2 separate regions of the Homo sapiens genome follow, and region 2 is linked to region 1. The links are contacts of gene promoters, found by promoter capture Hi-C in human tissues and cell types (Jung and others, 2019). All regions are on one chromosome and are shown on one strand. Each heading gives the region's core, a stretch centred on a gene start or on the middle of the fragment in contact. The rest is flanking DNA. Distances are from core to core; before and after follow the strand shown. Region 1 holds the start of GPR148 (G protein-coupled receptor 148). Region 2 overlaps ARHGEF4 (Rho guanine nucleotide exchange factor 4).

Region 1 (6,003 bases), core at 88-2,587:
CGTGGTCCCAGGGCTGCGATGATGGTGGTCCGGGGCTGTGGTGGGCGTGGCCCCGGGCTGCGGCGGGCGTGGTCCCCGGGCTGCGGCGGACGTGGTCAGGGGCGGTTCTGGGCGTGGTCCCTGGGCTGCGGTGGACGTGGTCTCGGGCTGTGACGAGCATGGTCCCTGGGCAGCAGTGGACGTGGTCTCACACCCAGAGTCTGAAATTTCTGCCTCTTCCTGGCCCTAAAAATATCCTGCCTGTTCCCACGCGGCTCCTGCCTTCTGGAGCAGTCTGCCAGGCCGGCGGTGGGTGTTGGGCAGGGGTCTCAGGCTGCCAGCAGCCAAGTGCAGCCCGTTCTGCAGTGATGACAGGGATCTGTGGGCAGAGGGGACCGAGCCTCGGAGGATGCTGTAGGTGGGAGAGCTAACATTGACTCAGCATTTACTTCAGGCTATGCACTGTGCTGAGTCCCTTACCTCTGGGCTTCCGCAACGTTTCCCTGAGGTCAGTGTGGTTGGCATTCGTGTTTCACAGATAAGGAAACTGGAACAAAGCTTTTCAAGGCCACGCAGCCAACACCTCGAGAGAGCGGGAGAGCTTGTTCACTTGAACTGGATCCCCAAACACCAACAGCCACCCTGGCCACTGGCTCTGACTGAGCTCACCCCACCCCCGACAAGCCAGGTGCCTGGGGAACCTGCCTTCCATTCCTCCCCACTAGCTCCTATGAGGTCTCTGCCTGCCAGGCCTCCTCCTCCCCAGAGGAAGGGACGTTTCTACCACACAGCGACCCCACAAGTCAGCTGAGATTTTGGGGGCACCGAATACTCACATGGAGCCCTGAGTGGAAGGGGTGTAGGAGTCACACTCACACGCATGCACAGGGTCACCCTGAGCTGGAGACCATACCCAAGGCTCTGTGAGGAAATGTGAGTGCGCCCAGGCCCCTCCAGCCTGGTCCAATTTGCTGAGCCTCTAGCTCGACAGAGGTCAGACCAGGTCTACAGCCCAGCGATCCTAGTTCCAGACAGCTGCTCCTTCCTTTCTAGGAGGGCAGCCCGGAATATAATCCAGTGTGGTGAGAATCCATTGCACACTCCCTGTGAGCCAAGCAGACAGGTTTGGGGGCCACTGAGATAGGGGACACTTCTGGAGGGGTCAGTGACTGCAAAATGGTGGCAGTGGGATGATCTGTTATGTCTACCCACGCACATGCAGCTGCACAGTTGCAGAGATGTGAATGCAGGAAGCCAGGTGTGAGTCTGAATTCACATTGGTTTTTTTATCTTTATTAAGCAGTCATTCCTAAGGCCTGCCCGAGCCTGGCATCTCTACAGAGGAGTGGTGCCATCAGGACCCCTGTGGGGCAGATCAACACTCAAGGCAGGTGCAGAATCAACAACCTGTGACAAAGCCAGCCATCCCTGCCAGGAAGCATGGGGGATGAGCTGGCACCTTGCCCTGTGGGCACTACAGCTTGGCCGGCCCTGATCCAGCTCATCAGCAAGACACCCTGCATGCCCCAAGCAGCCAGCAACACTTCCTTGGGCCTGGGGGACCTCAGGGTGCCCAGCTCCATGCTGTACTGGCTTTTCCTTCCCTCAAGCCTGCTGGCTGCAGCCACACTGGCTGTCAGCCCCCTGCTGCTGGTGACCATCCTGCGGAACCAACGGCTGCGACAGGAGCCCCACTACCTGCTCCCGGCTAACATCCTGCTCTCAGACCTGGCCTACATTCTCCTCCACATGCTCATCTCCTCCAGCAGCCTGGGTGGCTGGGAGCTGGGCCGCATGGCCTGTGGCATTCTCACTGATGCTGTCTTCGCCGCCTGCACCAGCACCATCCTGTCCTTCACCGCCATTGTGCTGCACACCTACCTGGCAGTCATCCATCCACTGCGCTACCTCTCCTTCATGTCCCATGGGGCTGCCTGGAAGGCAGTGGCCCTCATCTGGCTGGTGGCCTGCTGCTTCCCCACATTCCTTATTTGGCTCAGCAAGTGGCAGGATGCCCAGCTGGAGGAGCAAGGAGCTTCATACATCCTACCACCAAGCATGGGCACCCAGCCGGGATGTGGCCTCCTGGTCATTGTTACCTACACCTCCATTCTGTGCGTTCTGTTCCTCTGCACAGCTCTCATTGCCAACTGTTTCTGGAGGATCTATGCAGAGGCCAAGACTTCAGGCATCTGGGGGCAGGGCTATTCCCGGGCCAGGGGCACCCTGCTGATCCACTCAGTGCTGATCACATTGTACGTGAGCACAGGGGTGGTGTTCTCCCTGGACATGGTGCTGACCAGGTACCACCACATTGACTCTGGGACTCACACATGGCTCCTGGCAGCTAACAGTGAGGTACTCATGATGCTTCCCCGTGCCATGCTCACATACCTGTACCTGCTCCGCTACCGGCAGCTGTTGGGCATGGTCCGGGGCCACCTCCCATCCAGGAGGCACCAGGCCATCTTTACCATTTCCTAGAGTTCTTGAGTCCACAGTCTGGCAAGCTGAGGTTAAAAATCATATGTTGAATGCAGCAGTGTCCACTTATGACTAACTTCTTAGAACAGCACAATATAATAGTGGAATTGGGCCTTTCAGAAGACCTCAACTGATGATTTTCACCATTTTGACAGTTTTTAAGTAGAGAAAGCTCTCTTATGACACTGAAATCCTACTTGGAAACGGAAGCAAGTAAAGGCAATCAAGCAGGGCTCTGGTCTAAGTCAAGCCTTGATCTGCGTCCCTCCAATGGCTTGCTGCACACCCTCCCTGGCCACTGTGGATGCATCCTTGCTGACCAACACACAGAAGCCAAAATGTTGCTGACAGTGAGAACCACAGAGGTAAGCAAGCAGAGCTGCTGAGTCCTGGGACCATGAGCTCTATCTGAGCAGCCGCTCAGGATGTGGGAGGGAGGAAAGGAAGCCAACGATCCACAGCAGTGGAGAGTGTCATGGAGATACCACTATAAAGCTGGAGTGTGCAAGGGTTACACTCTCACAATAAAGGTAAATGATAACCTAACCTTACAGAAGGGGTCAGCAAGGGAGTTTGCCTGCCTTGACTTTCGTGCTGTGTAGAAGAAGAAAATTCCTCGAGAATTCTTAAGTAGAAGCCACTCTTCAGACAGTTTTAGAGCTAGGCTTCAAATTATGTTAGTGGTAAAAAGACCTCAGTCTGTGGTTGGTGTGGTTCTCCTGGACGATCTGAGCTTCACCTTAGGCTGCAGAGAATTTCCAGAGTCAAAGAACCTCAAATAATGGAGTTGCACATGGTCAAATCTCACAAAACCACATAGGGAGATAAGGCACCATGAATGAGAGCAAGAAGAAACAAGAAGACAGCAGCGTCATACCACAGCTCCTTGAATTATCAACACTGGGTTAATATAAAAATGTTCAAGATGTTTTAAGACATTAATAATGACATGAAAATATGAGCAGGGATAATACTTTTTTTTAAATAACCAAGAAAATTTGGAAAATATTTAAATAGAACTTCTTGAAACAAAAATATTAGAATTATGAGTTGAATTTAATATGGATTAAAGAGCATGTTAGACACAACTGGAAACAGACTCTGCAAATTGTGAGAGAGGTCCAGATAAATTACCTAAAATGCAGCCCAGAGGGACAAAGAGACAACCATATAAAAGAGAGATTAAGAGACATTGAGGTTGGGATGGAAAAGACTAACATACATTTAATTTGGGAACACAATACAGAAAATGTAGGAGGGGAAATATTTGAAGCGATAACAGCTGAGGATTTTTTCAGATTTGTTTAAAGATATCAAACTTCAGATCCGAGAAATCTAACCAATCATAAATAAGATAAATGACCAATAACCCACGTTGAAGCACATGATGCGAAACTGCAAACAGCTAAATACAAAGACAAGATATTTAAAGCAGGCAGAGATAAAAGACAAAAGAACATCAATTAAACTCACCTTGACTTCTCAAACAATGGAAGAGACCAGCCTGACCAACATGGTGAAACCCCGTCTCTACTAAAAATACAAAAAAAATTAGCCGGGCTTGGTGGCGGGCGCCTGTAGTCCCAGCTACTCCAGAGGCTGAGGCAGGAGAATGGCGTGAACCCGGGAGACGGAGCTTTCAGTGAGCCGCGATCACGCCACTGCACTCCAGCCTGGGCGACAGAGCAAGACTCCGTCTCAAAAAAAAAAAAAAAATAATAATTAGCCAGGCCTGGTGGCATGTGCTGTCAGCTACTTAGGAGGCTGAGGCAGGAGAATCGCTTGAACCCGGGAGGCGGAGGTTGCAGTGAGCCGAGATCACACCACTGCACTCCAGCCTGGGCGACAGAGCGAGACCCCATCTCAAAAAACAAACAAACAAACAAAAAACATGGAAGCCTTGGCAACTGGAATAATGTTGCCAATGTGCTGAGAAAATAACTGTCTTCCTAGAATTTTATATACAGAAAAACCTTTCCAGACCTTGATAGAACACAAAAGCTGAAAGACAGTATTCCTAGCAATACACATTAAGAAAACTTCAAGGGATGTATTTGTTGCAGAAGAAAAATTATTCCAGGTGGAAGGTTTGAGATGTATGAAGAAATAGAAAAGTCACTGGAGACTATGCACATAAATAGGAATAGTTATTGTCTAGTTGCCTACATAAAAGCAATAAAAATGTCTAATTTCGGCCCGGCATGGTGGCTCAATGCCTGTGATCCCAGCACTTTGGGAGGCCGGGGCGGGGCCCATCACCTGAGGTCGGGAGCTCAAGACCAGCCTGACCAACATGGAGAAACCCCGTTTCTACTAAAAATACAAAATTTTGTATTGGGATGGTGGCGCATGCCTGTAATCCCAGCTACTCGGGAAGCTGAGGCAGGAGACTCACTTGAACCCCGGAGGCGGAGGTTGCGGTGAGCCAAGGTTGTGCCATTGCACTCCAGCCTGGGCAACAGGAGTGAAACTCTGTCTCCAAAAAAAAAGTCTAATTTAACGGTTTAGAAAAAATGGAAAAAAAGAATTACATAACAGTGGTATATGTGTCAGAAAGGTGTAATTGTACTTAAAGCATTCTAAAGTCTAGCAGTCTTCAGGAGGAAGGTAGAGATATTAATCTAAGACTTTGTTAGGCATGCAAGTTGAAATGAGGTAACCACTAACAGACTAGACAAAACGAGGATCACTCTCTAAATAATCTAAGGAACAAATGAAATGAGTAAGAGAAAAGATCACTCAGCCAAAAGAAGGCAAGAAAAAATATATAGAAAAGTCAGGACAAATAGAAAGCATAAAGTAATATGATAGAATCCAAACAACTAATTCAAATCTACTAAAACAATAAATTTAAATGACTAAAATTTGATGGTGGGGAAACAATATTGTCCATTTACTTTTAAATTGGATATATGTTATTTATAAGAGATTATGCTAAACAAACAACAGAGAATGGGTGGAAGTAAAGCAATAGTTGGGAGTATAGAAAAAGACAGAAAGCCTTTCCTGGATCCTCCAATCAAAACTTAACTCAGGCTGGGTGCAGAGGCTCAAGCCTGCAATCCCAGCACTTTAGGAGGCAGAGGCGAGAGGATTACCTGAGGTTGGGAGTTCGAGACCAGACTGGCCAACATGGTGAAATCCCGTCTCTTCTAAAAATACAAAAATTAGCCAGGCATGGTAGAGGGCACCTATAATCCCAGCTACTCAGGAGGCTGAGGCAGAATTGCTTGAACCCGGAAGGTGGAGGTTGCAGTGAGCTGAGATCGCGACATTGTACTCCAGCCCAGGTGACACAGCGAGACTCCATCTCAAAAAAAAAGATAGAAACTCGCTAAATGAAAGCCAATAGAAGAGACAAAGCTGAATTTAAAGCAAAACAGCCTTACTAAAGAGGGTGACTACATGATAAGTTCCAATTTATCAAAGGAGATAAAATTAACATAATAAGATAATGAAAATTTATAAAGCAAACATTGACAAAATTTTGAGGGGAAATTAACAAACCAACTTTCATAGAGAAGTTTAAGAGTGCTCTCT
Region 2 (5,785 bases), core at 2,594-5,093, 140 kb after region 1:
ATAAATCAACAGGCAATTTCTCCCACTTTCTGAGTGTCATGAGTCCCTTTTCCTCCTCTTTCAGCCTGTACTAAGTCTTCCCCAGGGCTTTCTCATCTGTGCCCTCATGCCCACTTCCAGATCAGGAGCTACCAGAGATAAGATGAGGAACTTGCCTCAGCATCCTTCACGTTCCAGCCTTCTCCCCGGTCCCACTGCTGCTGTTTCCTCTGCAGAGTCCTCAGGCAGCCGCCCCCTGCGCCATGTTTTGGCTTCAACGCTGCGTGTGGTGGGAGCAAGGTGGATGTGTTTTTTTCTTTTTTTTTTTTCTTTTTTTTTTTTTTTTGGAGACAGAGTCACCCAGGCTGGAGTGCAGTGGTGCCATCTCGGCTCACTGCAAGCTCCGCCTCCCAGATTCAGGCCATTCTCCTGCCTCAGCCTCCTGAGTAGCTGGGACTACAGGCGCCCGCCACCACGCCTGGCTAATTTTTTGTATTTTTAGTAGAGATGGGGTTTCACCATGTTAGCCAGGATCGTCTCGATCTCCCGACGTCGTGATCCGCCCGCCCCGGCCTCCCAGAGTGCTGGGATTACAGGAGTGAGCCACCACACCCGGCCAAGGGTGGATGTGCTTTTACTGCATCTGGACCTGGGACTGGAGTCTCCTGGACGTCTTTTCCTTATGGAATAATTTCTTACAAGGCTGTGGTCAAGATGAGCCTAAGTAACCTGGAAGCAGCAGACAGTCACCCAGCTGGACATGGGGGTTGGCGCTGATGGCAGAAAAGGGAAAGGAGAGAACACTTCCCAGGGAAGCTGAAACCTGGCTGACTCTTGGCTGGGTGTGGGAGGGTGGGGTGGGGCGGGGCAGGTGTTCCAGGTGCAGAGACCAGCTGCGGTCTGAGGCGGGAGAAAGCGTGGTGTCTTTAGGGAATACAAGCTAAGGATTTCATACTGTCGTGGCACTGTGTGCAGCAGAACATCCAAGGAAAAGGCGAAATCAGGGAGAGGCCAGGTCAGGCAGGAAGTAGGACTTTGCAAACATTCTAGGGTGGTCAGATTTTGTTGCAATTTTATGGGGAAAGTATGACTTTCCTGTAGCTGCTGCAACAAGCTAGTACAAATATTATGACTTAAAATGCAGCCAGTGCATTACAGCTGAAGGACCGAAGCCCAAAGCCAGCCGCACTGGGCTGAAGCCAAGGTGCCTGTGGGCTGGTTCGTTCTGGAAGCTTCAGAGGGTCGGCTTCCTGCCTTTTCCAGCTTCCAGTGGCCGCCTACATTCCTTGGCTTATGGCACCCCCGTCCTTAAAGGCATCACTTCATTCTCTGGTTCCAGCATCACATCACCTTCCGGTGATCATATCGGGACCACCTGGATAATCTGGGTTATCTCCCCATCTCATGCACTTCATTACCTCAGCCCCATCCCTTTTGCCCTAAAAGGCAACAGTCACAGGTTCTTGGGCTTAGGACACAGACATCTTGGGGGTCCCTACTCAGCCTACCAAGAGGGCATTTCACAGATTTTGATTGGAGGGAGTGATGTGATACAGCTGTCATATTTGAGGCTTAGAAAGATCTGTCTGGCCACAGAGAGAGTAGGAGGAGTAAGGGTGGAGGCCTGCAGAGTGGTTGGGAAGCTGAGAAGTAATCTGTGCCGGTGATGGAAGGTACAGCAGAGGCAGTGGTGTGAGGATAGGAAAGAACACTCAGGAGCTGTAACCCACAGAACTTGGAGCCGGATAGATGTGGAATGGGTGAGGGAGGAAGTCTCGCAGGGCTCCGGGTCTCTGCCTTCATCAGCTGGGTCACTGGTGGTGTCACTGACTGAAGAGGGAGTTACCCCTGAGATAAGCAGGGAATCTTGGTGAGCAGTGAGGCCCCTGAGTCTGGGAAGGCAGCTGGCAGTAGCTATTTGATTGTGCCCAGCACATAGGCAGTGCTTGAATCTGTGATGGCACGAGATGACTCAGGGACTGTGTCTAGAATTCGAAGGAGTGTAGAAGCTGCTGGGGAACAATGACCTCTGCAGTTAGAGAGAAGAGAGGGTATGAAAGGAAGCTAGTGAGGCAGGGGAATGCCAGGCAGCAGTCACGGGCAGCCCGGCCAGAGCGGGGAGCTGACATATCCGCATTCAGACCAAGTCGTCCCTCAGCTAGGGAACGGCCGCCTCTTACTGAGGCCACCTGAAACCCTGAAAGGAAAAGGTGGAGAATGGTTTTGTGTTTTCGGTGTTAAGCTTGGGGGCCAGAGGCTCAGACTGGGAGCAGAGCTGTTTCTTGGACCCTCACTGTGTGCACACATGGGGTGCTGAACAAGGCCCCCTCCGTGGAACCCGGTGTGGCCAGCGGGACCCGCTGAGCTCTCAGGCTGGCTCTGGCAACAGCTGAAAAGCTCCATTATTTGCCTTTCTGGGTACATCTGCTGAAGAGGCTCAGCGTTTTGGGGCAGTGTGAACGTCTCCCTGCCACTGAGAACAATATTCGCCCTCTGCTGTCAACCCCTGCAGGGCCTCAGAGAAAGACGCTGCTGGAGGGTGGGAGGCCTGCCCACTGTTTCTTCCATGGGTATTGTTGCTTTTCCCTCTTGTGGCACCTCCTCCCCAGCCCAGGGTAGGCTGAAGGGGCAAGGACAACGCTGAACAGACGAGATGGGACCTAGCCCCCGGGAGCAGGGTAGGCCCTTTGGTAGGACTGGATGTCACGAGTGGGATGTGTTTCAGATGGAGCAACGGGCATGCTGAGATGGAAAAGCAGGAATGGGCATGAAGTGTACAGGGGCAGGGCTGGGGATGGCTCAGCTGAGGGGAGCCCTCCAGGGTCCCTAGCTGCCAGGACACTGCCCAGGAGAGGGGGCAGGAAGGGGCCCTCAGCCCTGTTCCTTCCCTTTGAGGCTTTGTGTTTGTGCGGCCCTCATTTTCCTGCACCCAATCTCATATGACCTTCTCAGAACCATGCACCTTGAAGTGAGTGAGGGTCAAAGAATGAAACAACTGCCCCAGTTACCAACAGTCAGGGATGAAGCCAGGGTGGAAACCAAGGTCTTCCATCCCTGGGGAGGGGAAGGGAACTCACTTTGGGGGTGCTCCTTATGTGCCAGGTATCTAATTTCTTACAAGGCTATGGTCAAGATGAGCCAGAGTAACCTGGAAGCAGCAGACGGTCACCCAGCGAGACATGGGGGTTGGCGGTGGTGGCAGAGAAGGGAAAGCAGGGAAGGCTTCCCAGGGGAGCTCGAAGCTGGCTGACTCTTGGCTAGGTGCAGGGTAGGGTGGGGCAGGTGTTCCAGGTCTCCTGCCTCCTCAGCTCTCCTAGATCTAAGTGCTGTCAGCCCAGGAACTGAGGTTTGCGGAGGAAGTGGCTGGTGCTAGGTAAGCCGTGGTGAACATCAGAGTGTGCTCAGGGGCTCCCTAGAAGCATATCTGCAGTCATGGGTGTCAGTGGGAGACGAGCTCCAACAGTCACTTCACTTTACCCATGAAAGCCTCTGGGGGGCATAAAGGGGCCCCGCCTGTGGGTTGCTGAGCTGGGGCACAGGTCAGCTCTCTCAACCCCACAATGGCCTGGATAAAGGATTTTTCTAAACCTCAGCTTCCTACACCTAGAGCTTTAAAATGCTCATTAATATACAAAGGCTTTCAAAGAGGCTGGGCGCAGTGGCTCACACCTGTAATCCCAGCACTTTGGGAGGCCGAGGTGGGCGGATCACCTGAGGTCAGAAGTTCGAGACTAGCCTGGCCAACATGGTGAAACCTTGTCTCTACTAAAAATACAAAAATTAGCCAGGCTTGGTGGTGGGCACCTGTGATCCCAGCTACTCGGGAGACTGAGGCAGGAGAATTGCTTGAACCCGGGAGGCAGAGGTTGCGGTAAGCCAAGATCGAGTCATTGTACTCCAGCCTGGGCGGCAAGAGCAAAACTCCGTCTCAAAAAAATATATATATATACATATATATATACACATATATACATACATATATATATGCATACACACACACACACACCTGCTTTCAGAAATTTTTAGGAAAAAAAATCTAACTTTATAGCATTTCCAAAATCATCTGATCACTCATCCCTTCATTTGTTGTCTTCCAAATCCTGTGGACACTATTTCAGGGGATGCTTCATGCCAGCAACCTGGGAAACTCAGGTCCACTCTCCCCTACACTGGAGACCTTTTGAACCCTCATTAATGAAAAATCAAGCACTTTTTCTTAACTCTTGCCAGTGGAGAAGGAAAAATGGAGAGACCTTATCTCCCTGGTTTTGAGGTTAATTCTTCCCCCCAAATAAAGATCCATGGAACAGGGTGGGTGTGGGAGCCTATCCAGCGTCATGATGATCTTGGCACATGCCTATCAGCTGTGAGCCTCAGGTGAGCACTCAGCCTAGCAGAACACCAGCTGTGCATCTGCAAAATGGAGCAACAGGGCCTCGCAGCACCGCAGCGCGGTTCAGGTCAGGGCAGGCAATCGGCCCAGCTGGGAATAAACTGTTAGCTCCTTCCTCTGCTGGAAATAGGCTTAGCCTTATAAAAATGAGTTAAAGCCTATTTCTAGCAGTTGGCCATGTTGATAAAGTGGATTAGCTCTTCCTCTGCTTGTTATCAAAACACAGGGCTCAAGCTTCAGGGAGCTGGCAGAGAGGGTGTGTGAGCGACATGGGCCCAGCATCAGGCGTGACCCTATCCTGATCCCTGTTGCAAAGCCTACCCTGACTCCAGAAGGCACCAGGAGCATGCGACTGACGGCAGATGAACGTTTGAAATTGAGGCTGTCTTGGGAAACCCAGCCCTGGTGGCTCCTGCAGCCCCAGGTACTTCTATCCAAAGCAGGGTCCCCCCAGGCCCCCTGCCCAGGCCCCTTTCCGGGACTTAGGTTCCTGCCATCCCCAGCCCTCCTCCGCACCTCCTCGTTTGAGCTGAATCACGCCAATTGTGTGTCCCGTCCCCGTGACCACTGGGTACAATCGCAAATCTTACTGCTGGCAAGTTCTTTTGTCTGACTTCTGCAAGTCTTTTAATGGGGTTTCTAAAGAAGTCACTGGAAAGGAGACTGTTTTCCTGCCAGATCCTCAGCAGAGGGAAGAATTTCCCTGTTGTTTCGGGATTATGGGTTGCAAGGGAGGCGATACAAAGGAGCAGAGGAGAAGAATGGGCCAGGACACAAACTCCGTATGTGTCAGCTGGGAGCAGCAGCACCTCACGGGGCCTTGGTGCACTTTGGGGGCTGAGGTCAGGTCTCGTGGTCACCTGCCTGTGTGGAGCCAGCCCTGAGCCCTGCCTGCAGCTGGCCCAGCACACACATGCCTGCACCATCCACATGCCTACCTGGGGCATGCATGCAGAGGCTTGGGGTGTTCGCCTGTGGAGCACACCTTTAGAGGCTGCAAGGCAGCAAGCCTCTGAGTCAGGCAGCCAAGGCAGGGCTGTGGGCACTCGTGCTCTTTTGCTGCCTTCCCCAGTCTCCAGGGGAATGGGCACACACAGGCTCTGGAGCCAAAGTGCCCGGATTCAAACCCTCCACTCCCTAGCTGGTGTGACTGGGAAAAGCCACTTGATCTGTCTGTGCTGTGTCTTCATTATCTGTCAAATGGCGATACAGTGCACACCTCATATGGTTGTCATAAGGCTGGCCTGTGGCAAAGGTTCAACAAATACTGTCATCAGCATTACTCCCATCTTATGAAGGAAGAAAATAGGCCGGGCACGGTGGCCACGCCTGTAATCCTAGCACTTTGGGAGGCCGAGGCGGGTGGATCACCTGAGATCAGGAGTTCGAGACCAGCCTGGCCAACGTGGTGAA

Evidence for each region. The method cuts DNA at HindIII sites, captures the fragments that hold promoters and counts their contacts. A contact is called where the count stands out against the background at its distance.
Region 2: a fragment that was not itself captured here is called in contact with the fragment with the promoter of GPR148 in region 1 in 1 of the 25 tissues and cell types used here (thymus).

Annotation. Positions count from the first base shown.
Region 1 is chr2:130,727,733-130,733,735 of GRCh38, forward strand. GPR148 (G protein-coupled receptor 148) reads left to right here and starts at 1,338. Exons shown (of 1, transcript NM_207364.2): 1 at 1,338-2,604. The coding sequence starts at 1,420. The coding sequence ends at 2,463. RefSeq lists enhancers at 1-488, 489-1,067 and a silencer at 1-140. The HindIII fragment of the contact is 13,856 bases long and covers 1-6,003 here.
Region 2 is chr2:130,867,628-130,873,412 of GRCh38, forward strand. The region is part of intron 1 of ARHGEF4 (Rho guanine nucleotide exchange factor 4); the gene reads left to right. Among named protein-coding and RNA genes, the nearest start is that of ARHGEF4-AS1, 34 kb to the left of the region's middle. The HindIII fragment of the contact is 4,254 bases long and covers 1,717-5,785 here.